7 separate regions of the Homo sapiens genome follow, and regions 1, 3, 4, 5, 6 and 7 are each linked to region 2. The links are contacts of gene promoters, found by promoter capture Hi-C in blood cells and fetal thymus (Javierre and others, 2016). All regions are on one chromosome and are shown on one strand. Each heading gives the region's core, a stretch centred on a gene start or on the middle of the fragment in contact. The rest is flanking DNA. Distances are from core to core; before and after follow the strand shown.

Region 1 (2,700 bases), core at 189-2,688, 3.2 Mb before region 2:
CACTAATCGCTTGGTAAAATAGTTTATACTGATGACCTCTACTTTTTTTATCATCCAATAATTTCTAAACCCTTTGTAAACTTGCCTTCCCTACCATTACTCAACTTTTTTGAAGGCTGATAGTGTCCTCATAATCATTTATTTCATTGGCAATAGTTTTGGCAAATACTAAGCCTCCTTAAATTCTCTAAAGCTATCAAGATGCTAGTCACCCAGTCACATTTTCCCTTTCTTTTCCTTCTGTGACATAAAGTTATTCTGGGTCTCTTATTCTGATTGTTCCTACACTGACTCCACTTCTTTTTCTTTCACTTTTTCTTCTTTCCTGATTCTCTTTCTCTGATTGTTCCTTCATTGGCTCCACTATCATTCACTGGCTCCACATCTTCCTCTGATTAAAGATATTCTTCTGGGTTCATTAGATTAAAAACATCAGCAATAGGATGCCTCCCACTCCCTCAATTCAACAAACGCATTTGTGTATCCAGTTGATTCTAGCTTCTCAGGGAAAAAAGGAGAAATTACAATCCAGTAAAAAAAGATGTTAGTATCATTAAATATAACTTAGGTTCATATCTCAGGTCTGTCAGTCATGAGCAATGTGGCATGAGGTATACTACTTAATCAATTTAAGCCTCTGTTTTTCATCTATAAATTGGAGAAAATAATGCCTATCTTTTAGTATTACTTTATGAATTGCAGTATGCAAAGTACATATTCCAATGGCAGGTAGGTACATAGTGGGCATTTAATAAAAATTTTTCCTTATTACTGTTATTTCCACACTCACTTCCACCAAACTTATATAGTCTGTTTCAACTTCTTTTAGTGTGTCATACACATCAACAAAAGACAAATCATCTAGAGTACAGATATAAACAGGTTTCCTATCTGGCCCAGTAAGTCCCAACTGCTTGACTCAAAGCTCAATTTCTCCCGATTTAAAAATCTTCAGGTTCTAGCCCCAAGCTTCCTCTTCAACCTTCTCCCTCACTGCTCTTCTAAATGAATACCATTCTCCAAACAAATTGGACCTTTTTTGGTTCTCAAACATGCCGTATACTCTTCACCTCAAAGTCCACCTCAGATTCTACCTCCTTTATGAAACTTATCTCCCTAGCTGGATATTTTATCTTCAGAGTATTTTACTGGTACTTCTCTCAGAAGGTACTCATATTCTGCCTGGTATTCAATTATTTGTGCATAAATAACCTTTCCTGCTTATAAATTGTAACCCCTTTGAAGGGAGAAACTAGGTTCCTATTCGTGCTAGTACTTACCACTTAGCTAAGTGATAACACATGTATATTTAAAAATAATAAACAAGGCTGGGTGTGGTGGCTCAAGCCTGTAATCCCAGCACTTTGGGAGGCAACGCAGGCAGATCACCTGGGGTCAGGAGTTCAAGATCAGCCTGGCCAACATGGTGAAATCCCATCTCTTCTAAAACTACAAAAATCAGCCAGGCGTGGTGGCGTGCACCCGTAGTCCCAGCTACTGGGGAGACTGAGGCAGGGGAATCGCTTGAACCCGGGAGGTGGAGGTTGCAGTGAGCTGAGATGGCGCCACTGCACTCCAGCCTGGGTGACAATGTGAGACACCATCTCAAGATAAATAAATAAATACAAATAAAATAAAATAATAAACAAAAAACCCTGACTCTTTCTCAACGAATTATTTTCCTCAACTTCTTATGAAGAGGTAGGAATAGGGTGGGAAGGGAACAGTGTATATAGGGTACTTACAGAGGCACTGCAACCTGAATTCCCACTTGGAATTCTCCCAGCTGCTGCAAAAAGGCAGGGCTGAAATAGCTATTATAGAAATTGACTAGGTAAGACTTTAAGATCTGTTAATCGATTGCAGTCAACCTCTTGGGAAACCCTTTACCAATCTGCTAAGCTTGTCTATATTTCTTTTCTTCCCAACGGTTATTTTTCCTAACCTTCCAGTCTCCTCTAAACCAAGTAAACAAAAGATTTTAATTTAAACCCACAGTCGAACGCCTAGTGAAATACACGTGTATATTTAATGTTATGTATTAGTTCCTATTTAAGAATTTTATTTCTTTAAAATTTATTTCAACCAAAATCCAACACCAAATTCTATGGGTAATATCTTAAGGCAGCACCTAGTATAGTGCTTTGTATATAGTACACATTCAGTATGTAATGGTTAAAAGAGTGAATTTACAGTCTACAATTGCAGGACTTAATTTTGGCTAATTGCAGTGGAAAACATGAGAAAAGATATAGTCCAAGTAAGAATGACACTTGAGGGTTCAGGCCCGCAACACCAGCTAGGTAGACCCTTAGGTGGCCCAGTGGTATACAAAGATTTAAGCATTCCCAGCTGAGCCCCTTGACAATAGAGATACATCATTTTATTTTGTATCACTTAGTACTGTGCCAAATCCAAAAATACTCTCTCAAGTGCAAGAGTATTCAGGAGTTAGAAATATTGAAAGTTCCACTATTCAAGCAAATTAGGTATAGTTCATATAATTTTTTCAACTCAGGATCCTCAGTCACTCCATAGAGTAAGCAAAGTATGCAATTACTAGAATTATTAGTCTCAATTTACATAAGATCACACTGCTGGCACTAAACTCCAGTTCCAGACTCTTTTTTCCACTATTGAATGCCACAGAAACATAAAAAAAAAAAAAATGGAAGGATCTTTAGAAACCATGTAGCTGGA
Region 2 (2,824 bases), core at 68-2,567:
GCATCATAATTTTCACTTTGCAAACGTATAGAGTACCTACTGTGCATGAAAAATTATGCTGAGGAGCTTTGGTGTGTACAGAGATAAGAAATGCTTCCTATGGCCTGTTACTATTTGTGCTACTCAAAAAAAGGTTTTGTACTTTGAGATGGGAGGGAAGTCATCTACTAAGTCAGGCTTTTGTTTATTTATATCCCAGTGCCCTTGATCTCCTGCAAAAACAAAAGGCAAAAGCTTGTTTTAAAAAACAAAACATTTGCAAGGATTTGGGTTTGTTCTAGAGCAAGATCACGCATTCTTCAAGACATCTGTTCACACAGAAGAGCTAGGTCTTTTAAAAAAGCTAGGTCTTTCAAAAAAAAAAAAAAGGAGTTCGTTTTGTTTTTAAAACAGGACTCTGTTCCGGTGAGAGCTCGGTGAAGTCCTGATCGGCACCCATGAAGGTGAGGCCGCACGAGTCCAAGGGCCAGAGGCCGTGGGAACAGCGCGGGTCCGACGGGTAGGAGGGGGCAGTGGGTTCGAGCCTCCACGCTTACATACAGCCTGCCAGGGCCTTAGAGCCCTCTGACTGCGAACCACCGCAGAGAGGTGCGGAACGCGGCCCCGACCCGGCAAAAGCCGTCCGCACGCCTGCTGGGCGCGCAGCCACGTTGACTACTGCAGCCTTCCCGGCTCGGCGAGAGCCTGCCAGCCAGCCGAGGCTGCGCCCTTTCCGCGGTCGGGATGAGCGGTTCCAGGAGAAAGGCCGCGAGGGCGGGGCTTGGGGCCTGGCGCGGCTATTTCCTCACACCGCGGTCAGTCAGGACGAGAGGCCGCGTTCAGGCCAGTGCAGAGCGCCACATGGCGCTACCAAGTCGGGCCCCGGCGTTGGCGGGCACAGAAGCAGTGTAATGCGGGAAGCCTGCAGCCCACACTGGGGAAGGATGTGCCAGCTAACGAATGTTTCACCACAGCCCACATGCCTGGGAGAGGGAATTTGAGAGCACGTGGGGGAGGGGCGAAGAGAGCTGTCGGCTCGCAGAGAGCATGCTCCATTCTGAGAGTCGAAGTGGAGAGCCAGGCATGCGCAGTGAGCCCAGGGTGGGTTGGCAGCGGTGAGGGACTGGCGCGAGCAGGCTGATGTGTTTATCCGGTTTTCTGGGTGGGCGGTCAAAGCGCACGCGGAAGGGCGAAAGGCGGCGGAGCTAGGTAGCAGCTTGCGCATGCGTGGAGTGAGCCGGTAGCTCTGGGAGGCTGTGGAGGGGGTTGTTAGAGGAGAAGCAAGGGAAAAGGGAAGCGAAGGGAGAGGAAAGGGGGGAGGGGTGAGAGTGTGCTCTGCGCATGCGTGCGAGCGCTAGCGACGACGGCGGCGGGGGAGTCTCGGGGATGACAGTGGCTTTGCCCGTTGGGGTAACGGTCGTCGTCGCCGCCAGCAGAGGCCTGAGGCGCCACACAGCCCGCGGGATCCATTAAGGCCGCAGCAGCCCGGGCCCTACCGAGCTGGAGTGGCGCGTGGAGTCGGGGTGAGGGCGGCGAGGCACGGGGGAGGGGCCTGCGGCGGGGCCTTGCTGTGTGCGCTGGGCGGCGGCGGGGCCTGGCGGTGTGAGCGCTTGCCTTCCGCGGCCGGGGAGTGCTGAGGGCGGCGGCGGCCGTCGTGCTCGGCGGAGGAGTCGTCTGTGTGTGTGGCGCCGAAAAAATGGCCGGGCAGTGAGGGGGCGGCGCTTGAGTCTGGTGACCCCGGAGTGTGCGACTGAGGCGCGAGGGGCGCCGCCGCGGCCCGGCCGGGCTTGCCCCCCGCCCCCTCCCGCCCGCCGGCGGCGGCCCGCGCACTTCCTCCCCGGCCTTCCCCTCCGGGTTGAGGACTCCCGCCCGCCTCGCCACCTCGGGGAACTGCGGGCTGCAACCCACGGGGCGGAGAGCCAGGGCGCAGTCTGGGCCCCGCGTCCGATATGGAGAGCGCGGCGGCGGCGTCCGCCAGCCGCAACATCAACCTTCGTCGCCGCCGCGGCGTCTTGCACTAGATCCGGGAAGCCGCTGCCCGACCGTCGTCCTTGCCGTCGCCGCCGCCTCCGCGCCCTGTACTGGGATGGAGTAAGAGGCCCTGCAGCCCGGGAGAAGCGTGCCGCGCCTCAGACGGGGCCGGGGCCTGCTCCCGCGCCTGCCAGCTCGACTTGAGGAGGCGCCTCCGTGTCCGGAGATGGAGCTCGAGTGCAGGCCGCCTGCCGAGCCGCGGGGCTAGACTGAGCTCCGAGTCCCGCCCCGAGCGCCCAAGCCGCCGCGTTCTGCGCTCTGTGGTCGCTCCGGACGAACTCGAACGCTGGTTTCTCTCTCATATTTTTGGTCTGGAAGTCTCAGGGACGGAGGGGCGCCAAGGCCCCATGTGTGGGAGGATTGTTTCAGCTCCACAAACTTGCACGGATTTTGGTTACTTGTTTGGCCAATGGTTCGGCTCTGATTTCTTCCGAATTGTTGCAAATTCGCCATCGTTCCCTGGCTGCTTACTAAGTTGGATCCGGAATTTCTTTTCAACCGGGAGCCATTGGTGTCGAAGTGTCTGCAATGAACCCCGTGAATGCTACTGCTCTCTACATTTCCGCGAGCCGCCTAGTGCTCAACTACGACCCCGGAGACCCCAAGGCGTTTACTGAGATTAACAGGCTCTTGCCTTACTTCCGACAGTCCCTTTCGTGCTGTGTTTGCGGTGAGACGCTTTTTATTGTTCCCTTTTCAATGCTTGTTTTTAAAAGCCTTCTGGGCAGTGGTAACGTGAGCGGGTTGACGGCCTGGTGGTTGGTATTAAGCTTTTGTTATTTGTGCAGCGCTGTACGGTCATTAGTTTTGAAAC
Region 3 (2,724 bases), core at 175-2,674, 4.7 Mb before region 2:
TGGAGCTTCTGATCTCCCCTCACCCCAACTCTGTTCCATCTGCAATCTTGCCCATCTCAGTTGACAGCAATTCCACCCTTCCAGGTGCCCAAACTAAAAACCCTGGAGTTATTCTTCGCTCTTCTTCTACACTCTGCATTCAATATGTCAAAAATCTTATTATCTTTACCTTCGAAGTCTAACTAGAATTCAACCACTTCTCACAATGTCCATTGCTTCCAACCTAGTCTGAATCACCATTATCAGTCAAGTGGATTATTGAAATAGCCTGATCAACTCCCTACTTCTGCCCCTGTCCCACGCATAGTCTAGCAGAGACCAATTAGCCTTTAAAAATTCTATGACTCCTCCCATTTCAATAGAAAAGGTCAAAGTCCTTTAAAGGCTTAAGAAGGCTCTATCATTCTGGCCATACCTGCTTCATTATCTCACTCTTACCAGGGCTAGGGTCTTACTGGGGCTAGTTCCTTTTGTATAGCTAATTCTCTCCCTTCCAAGTCTTTACTCAAATGTCATCTCAGTAAGATTCATCATCATTCGATTTAGTACTAGAGTGCACTCCTACCACAGTCCTTTAAGGTGCACCATTTTTTTTCCCACAGCACTTAATGCCTTCTAGTTAATGATAACAATTACTAGACAAGACAGTCCCTTGTCTTGCTGTCCGGTTGTCGATATTCTTCAATACTATATTACAACCAGACAAGTGGTAGGTTCTTAAAGGTTAGCTGAAATGTAGAATCTGAACTATACCAGTAAACTTTTCATACTGTTATATTAAAATCCACTGGTCTATTTTAAAATCTGAATGACTTTTTTACCCATGGCTGACTCCATGAAAAAAAGAAGCTAGTGTAGCCTGCAATTGAAACAACGCAGAACCACACTTCGGCATACAGTTACTTCATGTCTATTTCCCATTTTGTCACACAAAATATTAAATATAGAGGTATTCAAAGGTTGTGATTTAATAAAATTAGTATTTTTACTCCTTCATGAGCATTCTTAGGTTAAACTGGCTTTTTTTTTTTTTTTTAATTGCAAGTACCTGGAGGTGAATACGATGACTACAGTCTGGTGCCACTGCCTTCATGCATGCTAAGGCATCAGCAGTTTTACCCATCATTGCTTTTGCACCATCAGGACAAATGTCAACAAATTTGTGCCAATAATGTATTTTTATGAAAATAGTTTTAAACTCTCAGACCACAACAAGGGTCTCAAGAAGGAGAATCCCTGACCCACAATGTTGTGCTACACTAATCCATTTGCAGAAAAATGGTAGCTGCTGTGCTACAGTAATTCATTTATAGAAAAATGATTTGAGAATATTCTCCAACAGGATAAGAAACTTCCCTTAGTTTTGCAGTCTATTAGTAAGAAGAACGGAATGCATTTTTAGAAGGAAAAAAAGGGAAGGAGGATGTCTGAATGTTTGTCTCCCCCAAAACTAGTAAGATGAAATCCTACTCACATCCCAAGGTGATAGTATTAGGAGGTAGACGCTTTCAAGGTGATTAGGTCATGAGATTGTAGCCCTGACATTTGGGATTAGTACCTTTATAAGACACCAGAGATCTTGGCTAGCCTCTCCTACTACGTGAGGATACAGCAAGAGAGTATCTTCTATGAGGAAGTAGACCATCATCAAAAAACCTGTTACTGCTTTAATTTTGAACTTCCCAGCCTTCAGGACTGTTAGAAATATTTGTTATTTATAAGCCACCAGTTTTTGGTATTTTGTAATAGCAGCTTAAACAGAGCAAGACAGAGGAAAAGGAGAGGTAGTAAAAATTAAGGAAATGAGACTAATAAAAATATGGTCAGAGTGAAGCGGAAATAAATCACATTAATTATACTTTTAAGTATTCTACTTCTGCCCTGATCTTCAAGCAAACAGGTGAAATAATTTAACAAATATCGTTCATTATACCCAAATGGGAATTTCCTACTGAATAAATAATAATGATTGAGCAAATGAATGAGCTCCAGGATATAAAAATAGACAGTTCTTAGATCATCTTTGATTTTACTCACTACATATATTAAATTATCTGTCATAAGAGCTGCAAAGAAAATACTTCATCCACTTAAAATCTTAAGGTATATAGCTCCTATTTGAGACAATATCTCCCTCAAATAGAAAAAAAATGAGCTGCCTCTGTAGATATATGCAGCTGATACAATAACTAGACAATGTACAATTCTATCAGTCTTTAAAAATACATTTAATAGTGCTTTCATCTCTATATACATACATTAGAGGTACAGCTAAAATTAAATCACATTTACACCTTTTTTACAGGCTGTCATGATATCGTTCCTTAACTCAATTAACCTAACTACTGACCTTACAAACTCTGAATATTAACTCTGGCAAAAGCATAATGGGATCAAAGGGTGTCTTAAAGAAAGCACGAGTTATGCATGTGAGTATTTCACCCAGAACCAAGGTCCAGTGCTGGTGTTTAACAATACAGCTACTAGGCTATTAGAAATGTGGGATTCCGATAAACATATTTGAATATTACAATTCTACTTATCAGAAAAACAACTTAAAGGCTCCATATTCGGAAAACCCTTGCCTAAGATTAAATACTCTGTGAAAGGTTACTCTTGGTTCTTTTAAAATATACTGGGCTTCCTTTAAAAAGATAAGGTGTGTTTTACTGAACTCACTTATGTAACCACATATAAAAATAAAATCAAGATGAGATGCAAAGG
Region 4 (2,700 bases), core at 6-2,505, 3.5 Mb after region 2:
CATCATGTTTTGAATAAAATGGCAACATGAAGTTCCTGATAATTGGTAAAATAATAAGTAGACTTAAAATTCTAAGATACGTAACATATATATATATATATGTATATATATAAGAATGTAAAATTGAGGAGCAAGACTATTTTTGTTAGGAAATAACAAGGTAAATTATTCTAGGCACTTCAAAAAACGTATCAGAAGATACTTCGAGAAAAAGAAAGTGCTTTAGAAGCGAAATACCAAGCAATGGAGAGAGCAGCAACATTTGAACATGACAGAGATAAAGTTAAAAGGCAATTCAAGGTAAATTCCTTACATTTTTACCCCCAAAGCAACATAGAATAAAATAGTATATTCTAAAAGTATATATAATATATAATGCGATGAATAAATAGAAGTAAGTCATGTAGGATTCAGGAAAGTTGTAAGAATTAGTGTAGAGCACTTTCACATTTTTGAGTTGGACGTGGTAAACTTGAGATCATTTCAAAGAAAAACGTATGAAAGTGAACATTTTAATAGTAATTTCGAAAAAAAGGAAAGCGTTTCCATATGGGGAAAAGCATTTGGAAATGTTTAGGGATGTTGTATTATTGGTATTTAGTGGGAGAGAGACAAATTTCCTAAACATCATGCAGTGCACATGACAGACCCACACCACAGACACGCATCCTGCTGGAATTCCAGTGGCTTCCAGTTGCAAAACAGTAAGGTAAAGGTACTAGGACATTCACCCTATGAAAGAGGAAATCGAGGACCAAATGAATATTGGTTTTATGAATGAAATATTTTTCCCTTAAAGTTGATGACACAACTTTTTGATTATGAAAAAGCTTTCAACATTAAAATTATTCTTTTTAAAGATTTTTAGGGAGACCAAAGAAAATGAAATTCAGGACTTACTGAGGGCCAAGAGGGAGTTGGAGAGCAAACTTCAGAGGCTACAGGCTCAGGGTATCCAAGTATTTGATCCTGGGGAGTCTGATTCAGATGACAACTGTACAGATGTCACTGGTAAGTGTATATCCTATTTATATTTTGAGCTTTCAACATGGCTGTAATGACATGTAGAGCCAACTTTGAATTCTGCTAGATTTCTTTTACTTATCTATATTAGGTTATTGCTTTAACTACTGTTGCAAATAGTGTCGTGTGTTCTCTCTGTCAGCTGCTAAGACACCTCTTCTCCACGAAGTGTATGAATTTGGGGACTGAAGTTCCTTCTACCTTGTCACTCTGCCAACCCTAACCCATAACTTTTACTCTCTAGTCTAAGATATCTACCCCAGCTCCCACCAGCACATCTGCATTTTAGCCAAGGGAAAGAAGGAAGGGGAGAACACGTTCCTTTCCCAGAAGGTACAACCTAAGATCACTTCTCAAATCCCATTAGTCAGAACTATAACTGGGAAGACTGGATAGTGTAATCAGCAGCCAGGCAGACATGTGTCCAACTAAAATGTAGTGTTCTGTTACTGAAGAAAGAAGAGGAGAATGGATATTGGAGTTACTAGTCTCTGCAATGTTATTTCTTTACATAATGATGTATTCTTTGCAACTATCATTTAGAATACTTGCCTTATAGTTCACTGAGTGGTTTCCAGTATAGCCTTGTGAACTATTCAAAAAGTATTTGTTTTATAATTAAACAAATGAAACATGTTTTCTGGAAATAAAAGCTTGAAATCACAGAGTGAAAGGGTTTACATATTCTAAGAAAATGTTAAAGTGTGATTGATACTGAAAAAAGAAAAATATTCTATTTTAAAATGCAGTGGAAAAATGTAGTCACTCTCCCATTTGTAATGAACTGTAAGTATATTCTCACAAATGGATGCATTTTGGAGTAAAATATGGTAACTGACAGTTCCTTCTTAATTTTCATTGTAGTATCATTGGAATCTGACCAACATCCTGGAATTTTTATTGCTAACTTTTAAGGAAAAAAAATGAAGGCCGGGCACGGTGGCTTATGCCTGTAATACCAGCACTTTGGGAGGCCAAGGCGGGCGGATCACGAGGTCAAAAGATCAAGACCATCCTGGCCAACATGGTGAAACCCCGTCTCTACTAAATACAAAAATTAGCTGGGCATGGTGGTGCGTGCCTGTAGTCCCAGCTACTCGGGAGGCTGAGGCAGGAAAATCACTTGAACCCAGGAGGTGGAGGTTGCAGTGAGCCAAGATCGCGCCACCGCACTCCAGTGTGGCAACAGAGCCAGACTCATCTCAAAAAAAAAAAAAAAAAAAAAAAAAGATTCTTAATGGCCAAGAGTAGCTGAGAAAATGCTCTTTTATACCCCAACACAAGTCTTAGTGATTATTTCAGTATTGACATACTCAAATGTACAGTGTTTCAAAACTATTGTAATTGTCTTGGCAAGTTAGAAACAAATTCCTTTCTAGGTCTTTTTTCATTTTTGTTTTAAACATGAAGAAGGAACACTTGAGGGGGAATGTCACCCATGTGAGATTCAAAGAGCTACAAATAGTAAGCTCAGTTTTGCCAGAGATTTAGCTCAAATAACCATTTACTTAAGGTTATCAAGGATGTAGATATTCTGACAAATATAATTGATTAGAAAATCATCATGTTCATAAGTAGCTATTGATTCAGACATTAATTTTGTTGCTCTAGGAGGTTGAGAAGGAGGTACTTCCTGCTGCAAAGAGTTTATGTCCTAATAAATTATGAATATTTTTA
Region 5 (2,854 bases), core at 9-2,508, 3.8 Mb after region 2:
TGCGAGGCAGTCTGAAGCCTCAGCCTATCTCCTGGTTTGGCTGGATTGGGAGCCAGCAGGTTCATTTACTATTGAGACGTCCTGAACGACAGCAGAGCAGGGTTTAAGTTATGGATGCTCTGGAAGGTCTCAGAGACCAAATTCTCAGAGACGCCTAAGGCATTTGCAGGTGGGAATGCTGGAAAGATAGTTCTGGTAGCCCCATTTATTGTGTCCGGATCAAGTGTTTAGAAGTTTACTTAAAGCTGCTTAATCTTCAACTCTCTGAGATACGAATCATCCTCGTTTTGCAGATAAGTTGAGGCCCAGCCTCAGAGTAGTGGATTTCATGTTTGCACCCAAGTAATTTGAACCCAGAACCTGTGCCCTCTAGATAACCATCTTCCTGAACCTCACCTGAGAGGGAAGTCAGGGCAGTGAAAAGAGGGGATATTGGGACTAAAGGATTCGGCTAGAAATTATGTGTTATCTGTGGGCAATGGTTTAAATAAGAAAGGTCAATGTCCACTCCCAGATCTGAGCCGTAAAGACCACAGTTTAAAAATTAGTGATTAAAAAAAAAATAGTGATTCTGCTGCAGACTTCAGAGTAGAGGCAGTGTAGGGTGACCTGCATGGATACATTATTGTATAAGGGTTAAAGGTCTCTGATAAGGAGTTGAATACTCATTCTTCATGGCAGTCCTGAAATTGTGATTTCTTGGCGTCCCCTTCAGCAAGTTGGCTCATTTTATAGACAGCGATTGCAGGATGAAAAAATGTGGAAAAATGGTTTTTACAGACTTTACCTCTTGATTCTATTAACCCTTTGCCCTACCTTAGGGCGGAAAAAGACTATTTGTGTTTATCCTTAGACTTTTCTGTAATGCAGCAGTAAGATAAGGTGCATGTAAGGGAAGGTACTAGGAATAGCTGGGTGTGGGAAGACAGAACCCGAAATAGAGTAGGAAGGGAGGAGGAGGAAAAAGAAACAGGAGGGCTGTGTTAAGGGGCCTTATTGGCTTATCCCATGGAAACAGAAACGTGTTTATGTGGTTACAAAGCCTTCCAGTAATCCCAAAAGTAAATGTGGGGTATATTATTTCGATTTTAGAGAAGCAGCAGACCCAGAGAGTCCAGGAGACTTGCTAAAGGTGACCTAACTCCTAAAGGTTGAGCCAAGATTAAGACACAGGGCCTGCCTGTAACATCAAGGCCAGTGAACTGTTCAACCTCCACACTGCCTCTCTGTTCAATATTTGAGACCAATAAAATCAATTCTCGTGTTGAGAGGAGCCTTAGGCATCATGAATTGTCCCCATCCTCTGTAGTGCAAAATTGCCTCACAAGACATCTTTTTCCATTGCATTTTTATAAGCCATTTTCCTTGTATTCAGCCAACTTGCACTCTCTTCTATGAGTAGTTATTTTGTCTTTGTTTCTTGCTCTTTTCTTCTTGTATGTGACATTCATTTAAGCACTTATCAGTACAGCTTATCACCCTTTCCCACTCCCTCTCCCGTGCATATCCTTCTAACTACCCCTGCTACAGATACTCATTTTAAGAAACCATATTCAAAGTACTTTCAACCATTGTTCACAAGATGTAGTTTCAAGCCTTTTCACAACCACTGGTTGCTTTTAATTGGATCCATACAATTGGATCCTTCTTAAAATGCCACAACAAAATACAAGAGTCAGGGAGAGTAGGACTTGTCTCTTCTTTCCCTATTAGGTTAAATCAGTTGGATCCTTTCCCCACCCAACTCTTTTTTAAGAGTGACAAATGCACACTTCTTTTTCTGGATTTGTCTTTTTATTCATAATTAAAGTTTGCACTAGCGTTTCTGACACTTTCATAGTGCAGATGTATCAAATTTACAATCTAAATTATGTGATGTACACTTAAAATATTTCACAGCTTTTTAAAAAATACATTTCACAGCCTTTTAGGCACCAATAGCCTTTATCAGTCTCCAAAGTTAGCATACAAGGCTGGAGTGATCTAAGACTTTAGAGAGCCCACAAGAATGTCAAACACTTGCTTATCTAATTCCCATTGCTGCTAAATTGACCTTCCTAATTATATCAATGCCCAGATCCAAAGTAAATCCTTAAGAACTCATACCACTCAACAATGCTTGAACTATGTTTTCAGTACAGTAGCCACTAGCCCTATGTGGCTACTGAACACAGAATAAAAATTAAAATTGTTACAAAAAAATGTAAAATGTTGCATTAGCAATTTTTATATTGATTACACGTGTTAAAAGAAAAAAATATTTAGGCCGGGCACGGTGGCTCACGCCTGTAGTCCCAGCACTTTGGGAGGCTGAGGCGGGTGGATCACCTGAGGTCAGGAGTTTGAGACCAGCTTGGCCAACATGATGAAACCCCGTCTCTACTAAATATAAAAAAATTAGGCGGGCCTGGTGGTGCATACCTGTAATCCCAGCTATTCGGGATGCTGAGGCAGGAGAATCACTTGAACCTGGGAGGGGGAGGTTGCAGTGAGCCGAGATGGTGCCACTGCACTCCAGCCTGGGCAACAAGAGTGAAACTCTCAAAAAAAAAAAAAGTATTATTTAATGATACTTGTTAAAGCTTGGTAATAGGCTGAGCATGATGGCTGACACCTGTAATCCCAAGGCTTTGGGAGGCCAAGTCAGGAGGATCACTTGAGGCCAGGAGTTTGAGACCAGCCTATGCAATGTAGTGGGACCCCATTGCTACAAAATAATAAAAATAAAAGCATTATCTGGGCATGGGGGCATGCCCCTGTAGTGCTAGTTACTCAGGAGGCTGAGGTGAGAGGATCTCTTGAGCCCAGGAGTTCGAGGTTACAGTGAGCTATAATTGTGCCACTGCACTCCTGC
Region 6 (2,700 bases), core at 156-2,655, 3.1 Mb before region 2:
CAGGTGTCAGAGACTAGTGGCAGGATGAATGCAGGTGTCTCCCAGCCCATGCCTTTTCTCTGAAAATGAACCCTCTACTTTCTTCCCATAGCTGAGGGAGCAGGCCTCAGTGGCTATGTTTTTCCTGTAAACATCCTCCTGGACACAGCTGATTGGACACTTAGTGCAGGATGAATGAATCCATTGGCTGCTGTATTAGCATTAGTTTCCTGTGGCTGCTATAACAAACTACCACAAATATTATGGTTTAAAATAACAAAAATGTATTCTTTCACAATTCCGCATGAGAAATCTGAAATCAGTATTACTGAGCTGAAATCAAGGGAGCTCTGCTCCCCTTAGAGTCTATCTCTGGAGAAGAATCTGCCCCTTGTCTCTTCCAGTTTCTGATGACTGTAAACATTCCTTTGCCTGTGGCTGCATCATTTCAATCTCTGCCTCCATCTTCACATCAGCTTCTCTTCTTCTATTTGTGCCAAATCTTCCTCTGTTTTCTTCTTATAAGGATGTATGTGATTGCATAATCACTGACCCACCCTGATAATCCAAGATAATCCCCATTTTAAAATCTTTAACTTAATCACATCTGCAAAGACCATGTTTCCATATAAGGTAACATCCACAAGTTCCATGGATTAGAGTGCAGTTATACTTGGGAGGAAGTATGGGGGCATTCTTCAGCCTACCCCAGATGACCAGGCACCAAGCAGATTTTTTCTCAATAATTCAAACTATGAGACATAGAATAGTCGACGGTGGAAGCTTGAAGTGAATAACTAAGTATTTAGGGTTTGGGCTGAAGCAGCCTTTTTCAGCAATGTGCTCACTGATGAGTGAGCAGGGAAAAGCCACTCTGCAGAGAGAGGCAGGAAAATGGAGCAGATCCTCAGAAGCAGAGATGGGAGAATATGTACGGAGAGAGATGGAGAAAGGTGGTGTCTTGGCCAGAGAGCTTCCCACTTTCCTTTCAATGACCTCTTTTACTTGGGGTACAGTGAGTTTTACTGATATGGAGTAATGAAGATTCCTGGTTTAAGCTATAACCTCAGGCAGATGCCCACATCTTTCAGAGCCCCAGTACCTCACCTGCAAAATGGGCATAATGACAATACTTATCTTGCAAACTTTGAGAATAAAGTACTTTCAGGATCTGATGTCTGGTGTTTCATAAAGATGGTGTGAGAAGGTTGTGTGGTGGCAAGTCAATTACTTTCTTTTTTTCTTTTCCGTTTTTTTTTTTCTTTTGAGACAGGGTCTTTCTTACTTTGTCACCATGGCTGGAGTGCAGTAGCATGATCTCAGCTCACTGCAACCTCTGCCTCCTGGGCTCAAGCAATCCTCCCACCTTAGCCTCCCAAGTAGCTAGGACTACAGGTGCACACCACCATGCCCAGCTAATTTTTGTGTTGTCCAGGCTGGTCTTGAACTCCTGGGCTCAAGTGATCTGCCCGCCTCAGCCTACCAAAGTGCTGGAATTGCAGGCATGAGCCATGGCACCCAAGTCAGTTACTTTCTGAGGATGGTATTCAGAAGTACTCTGGTTGCAAGAAACAAATCTTTCCTGAGTAAAACTGAAATGGGAGTAATTGGAAGGATACTGAATATCTCACAGAATTCAAGAAAAAGCTCAACAGCCAAGCCTCAGGAAGGACTTGAAAGATGGCAGCTCCAAGAACCCCAGAGGCAGGAACTCAAGAGATCTCTCCAGGAGGTTGCAGTCCTAATGGCTTGGTTCCAACTCCCTGCCTTCCATCCAATCTAAGTTCCTGGTGAGAGAGGCTGATTGGCCTGGGTGGGGTTCTGTTCACCACTGGGGGTTGGGGAGGGTTGGCCCTCTGACTGACAGTCCCAAGGCTATCTGGCTGCAGCTACTGTTAGGATTCATTAGGTCATATCTTCACCAGCTCTGTGGAGCAAGCATGGTTTTCTATTATTTGTAAAACAAAAGTATAGTGATGCCTCAGTGGGGAGTGCCTTATCCCACTCTCAGTGATTTAACAGGGTCTGGACTTCTGTTTTTTAAAAGATATATTTTATCCTAAGCTTTTAGAAGTCAAGATGGGGTTAGGGGATAAAAGTCAGGGAGAGGAATGGAGAGAGGAAGAACAGAGCCCAAGGAAGAAAGGTGACAGTCTGGACAACGCAAGAACCCCTGCGGTCTCCAGCAACCACACTCATGTGACTTCTGTAAGTCTTCAATTCCCTATCCTTGAGGCCTCCCAAAAGGTCCACATCCACCCCACTTTTGACTTCACCCAGAGTTTTTATTCTTCTGGCCCCTATTCAAAGTCCAAACCTCTTACATGTTCCTACAGAGACACAAATTCCATGGCCGAAATTCCCCTTTGTGTGCTGAGAAGGGACTGGTAGCAAGGAAAAAACCAAAGATCCAGTAACGAGAAGGGACAAGTGATGTTGTGGATCCCTGAGGAAGCTTCAGGGGATGAAGATTCTAAGTGGAGGCATTGGTAGTAGATGCAAAGGAGCCTTTGCACCAGTAGGCCAGGAGTTAAGGATGGTTAGAGTGGATACGTTTTGGGGAGAGAATCAGAGAGCCTTCCTGCCTCTCTGTCCCTTTTTCTGAGCACTGGAAAGCAAAATCATTGGTCGAGAAGAGGTACGGTTGTGTTGGGAGCTATAGGAATGAGCAGTTTGAAGTATCTGCTGGGGCTGGGCACATGGCTGGGATGCAACCTGCTG
Region 7 (2,700 bases), core at 16-2,515, 3.5 Mb after region 2:
TCCTTCATCATTATACTACAAAGTCTCTTAATTTCTTTATTCTGTATTAATCCACTGTTTCCTGTATGCTATAGCTCACTAGTTCTAAAGTGTCTATGGATCAACAACAGGACCACCTGAGAATTTAATAGAAATGCAATTTCTTAGGCCCTACCCTATAATCACCCACTGAATCAGAAATCTTGAATGTGGAGTCCAACAATTTGCTTTAACAAGCCCTCCAGTAATTCTGATGCACATGACAGTTTAAAACACTGTCATCAATTATTTTTAAACTTACTCTCTTGCTGTGGTTAGAAGAACATCTTCCAGTAGTTTTGCAAAGGGTACGGCAAAGGTAAATTTTGAGAACTTTCATTTCTGAAAATGTTCCTTATCAAAATTATATTCTTTATAAAAATGACAAAGCAAAGGGCATATAATTGTGGGAAGCTACACATATACTCTTAATCGATAGTTTAACTTGGTAAAGAAGTCTAAAGTTAGAATTGTCTTTCAACATTTTAAGGTATTGCTCCAGTGTCTCCTAGCTTGTAAAATTTCACAGTGTGCCTTAATGTGAATCTGTTCTCATCCCTTGTGCTGAGTTTTTAGTGGACTCTTTCAAAATGAAAACTCACATTTTCAGTTCTGGGAAATGTCCTTGAAGAATCTGGTTACTTCCTTGTTTGGTTTGTTTTTCCTGGACTATCTGGAACTCCTATTATTTGGAAGTTGAACCATCTGGATTTGTCCTTTATCTTCTTTCTCCAGTTATCTACTATTTTAGTTTTCTGCTCTATTCTCTGGATGATTTCTTTCAACTTTATTTTCCAACACTTCTATTAAGATTTTCATTTCTATTACCATCTCCATTTGCAAGAATTCCTGATCATCTAAATACTTTGCACCTTGTTCCTGTATCATTTGTACCATATCTTCTCTCATCTAAGGATACTAATGATAATTTAGGGGGATGTGTTTATCTTACATAGTCTATCCAAGTTGCTATTTTTATTTCTTTCATGTTAGAAGTTTCTTTCATCCTTTGTTCTGTTCATATTTAAGTGTGGGACACTAATAAAGGTAACAATATAGGCAATAACTGTTTGACTTTGGACTTCACTGTAGGGTCATCTGGCCAGACTATTTAGTTGAGAAACCCACAATGTCAGTGTCTTTCAGTCTTTCCTCTTGGCTCTATCAGATTCCCTAGAGAATAATCTTTCAAACTCCAACCTGAGTTGGAGTTCCAACCCCACGATCAGCTGTTGGAAGTGAAGAAGCAAGGCTGGGAGTCTCGACACTCAGTATGTAAGCATTTAGTTTACATTCAGTCACAGCATTCAGCATGTAAACAATCAGTTTACCCCTTCCTTCAGGTACAAAGACCTGCCCCAATTATTCTTGGAAATCTTCTATTTTACTCTTTCTAATGAAGAAATCTCTACTCTCCTCTTCTGGTAGGGAAGGAGTGTTTGCCCAGTTACCCACAGTGGAGTAGGGGATCTGGGGCTTTTGTTTCTTCAACAGATTTTCAACTGAAAGTTTTTTTTAGCCCTACCTGAAGTTCTGCAAGTACCTGTGCCTATTCCTGAGCCTTTTGGGGGATTCTTGCAATAAACTGGGTTGCGAGCTTAAGATTAAACTTCTCTGAATCTATTAAATCAGTTACCTTCACCCATCCCTTCTCTAGTTTCCAAATTGTTACTATAATCAAGTACAGGGACCCACCCCTCCCTATCAGTTATTAATACGAACCCTTTATATTTTCAATGGGAGTTTCTTTTAAAAAATTCCTTTACTGTCACTTTAGTGAGGTTGGGTAGAAAGTGATGGCAGATCCATCACAGGAATTTGCTATCCTTACCTTGATGCTCCCTTCAATCTTTAAATAATCTGAGAAGCATGGATGGCAACCCCCTTTTACAGATGAGGGAAACGGTTTGGGTTAATCAACTGCCCAAAATCAGCTAACTGGCAAGTGGTATTCTGAGCTGGGTTTCTGAGCCAGGATTTGATACCAGGTTTTCTAATCTCAAAGCCTCTCCAATTTTTCCACATGCTTATAACTATATTCCATAACACATAATTTTACGGTTACTTGTGTTTTTTAATATCCCACCTCCATGTAGTCTCTCAAACTGAAGCAAAAGTCAGGTGCTTTATATTTCTTTTGTATCTCTTGAAGCAATTAAAATGGTGTTGAACACATACATATCCCTTTCCTATAACCTTTTGTACTTTATCATAATTCAATAACCTGTACTTTATCAATAATAACACTGTACTTTATCATAATTCTTATCACCTGTACTGCAATGGCATGTTTACTTTTCTATTTATCTCACACTCATCTGGTAAGCTCTAGAGGGAAAAGACCATGTCTACTTTATATTCACAGTGTCTGCACACAATAAGTACTCAATACAAAGTAAATAATATTGTCAAGGAGGACTGGAGACAAAAATGTACTCAGTAAATATTTGCTGTATGAACAATTCAAAAAATTAAAGCTGAACTTTATTAAAATTCCATATATCAGTGAACAGCTTTGGGTATCAAACTGCCATCTCCTGTATAGCAATTTTAATAAAGTCAATGGTGCAAATCAGATAGAAAATACTACATATTTAGACTTGAGTTCTGAAAGTTTTGTTATAATTACAATGTCAAGGGATCATCTCATATTAAATAATGTCTGAAAGACAACTTAAATTC

The links. The method cuts DNA at HindIII sites, captures the fragments that hold promoters and counts their contacts. A CHiCAGO score of 5 or more calls a contact.
Region 1: a fragment that was not itself captured here is called in contact with the fragment with the promoter of MSL2 in region 2 in 2 of 17 cell types (total CD8 T cells and fetal thymus); the score reaches 9.6 in total CD8 T cells.
Region 3: a fragment that was not itself captured here is called in contact with the fragment with the promoter of MSL2 in region 2 in 2 of 17 cell types (non-activated CD4 T cells and naive CD8 T cells); the score reaches 6.3 in non-activated CD4 T cells.
Region 4: a contact is called between a fragment that was not itself captured here and the fragment with the promoter of MSL2 in region 2, in 3 of 17 cell types (total B cells, non-activated CD4 T cells and naive CD4 T cells). The highest score is 6.5, in total B cells.
Region 5: a contact is called between a fragment that was not itself captured here and the fragment with the promoter of MSL2 in region 2, in 2 of 17 cell types (fetal thymus and total B cells). The highest score is 6.6, in fetal thymus.
Region 6: a contact is called between a fragment that was not itself captured here and the fragment with the promoter of MSL2 in region 2, in 3 of 17 cell types (total CD8 T cells, non-activated CD4 T cells and activated CD4 T cells). The highest score is 8.0, in total CD8 T cells.
Region 7: a fragment that was not itself captured here is called in contact with the fragment with the promoter of MSL2 in region 2 in 1 of 17 cell types (total B cells); the score reaches 8.2 in total B cells.

What each region holds. Positions count from the first base shown.
Region 1 is chr3:139,391,170-139,393,869 of GRCh38, reverse strand. All of the region lies in intron 1 of COPB2-DT (COPB2 divergent transcript), which reads right to left. Among named protein-coding and RNA genes, the nearest start is that of COPB2-DT, 2.7 kb to the right of the region's middle. The HindIII fragment of the contact is 933 bases long and covers 972-1,904 here.
Region 2 is chr3:136,194,828-136,197,651 of GRCh38, reverse strand. It overlaps MSL2 (MSL complex subunit 2), which reads left to right and starts at 1,317. Exons shown (of 2, transcript NM_018133.4): 1 at 1,317-2,680. The coding sequence starts at 2,539. RefSeq lists enhancers at 770-1,069, 1,240-1,289, 867-1,613, 2,240-2,309, 1,614-2,360 and 2 more and a silencer at 1,510-1,899. The HindIII fragment of the contact is 2,546 bases long and covers 237-2,782 here.
Region 3 is chr3:140,944,052-140,946,775 of GRCh38, reverse strand. All of the region lies in intron 1 of SLC25A36 (solute carrier family 25 member 36), which reads right to left. Among named protein-coding and RNA genes, the nearest start is that of SLC25A36, 3.6 kb to the right of the region's middle. The HindIII fragment of the contact is 4,988 bases long and covers 1-2,724 here.
Region 4 is chr3:132,717,305-132,720,004 of GRCh38, reverse strand. It overlaps NPHP3 (nephrocystin 3), which reads left to right. Exons shown (of 27, transcript NM_153240.5): 2 at 175-300; 3 at 861-1,011. It overlaps NPHP3-ACAD11 (NPHP3-ACAD11 readthrough (NMD candidate)), which reads left to right. Exons shown (of 45, transcript NR_037804.1): 2 at 175-300; 3 at 861-1,011. Among named protein-coding and RNA genes, the nearest start is that of NPHP3-AS1, 3.1 kb to the left of the region's middle. The HindIII fragment of the contact is 846 bases long and covers 833-1,678 here.
Region 5 is chr3:132,414,196-132,417,049 of GRCh38, reverse strand. No RefSeq gene overlaps it. Among named protein-coding and RNA genes, the nearest start is that of DNAJC13, 1.9 kb to the left of the region's middle. The HindIII fragment of the contact is 2,653 bases long and covers 1-2,584 here.
Region 6 is chr3:139,340,057-139,342,756 of GRCh38, reverse strand. LOC124909439 reads left to right here and starts at 1,884. Exons shown (of 2, transcript XM_047449421.1): 1 at 1,884-2,187. The coding sequence starts at 2,059. The HindIII fragment of the contact is 1,281 bases long and covers 765-2,045 here.
Region 7 is chr3:132,662,068-132,664,767 of GRCh38, reverse strand. The region is part of intron 1 of UBA5 (ubiquitin like modifier activating enzyme 5); the gene reads right to left. The region is part of intron 26 of NPHP3-ACAD11 (NPHP3-ACAD11 readthrough (NMD candidate)); the gene reads left to right. Among named protein-coding and RNA genes, the nearest start is that of UBA5, 3.1 kb to the right of the region's middle. The HindIII fragment of the contact is 4,577 bases long and covers 1-2,700 here.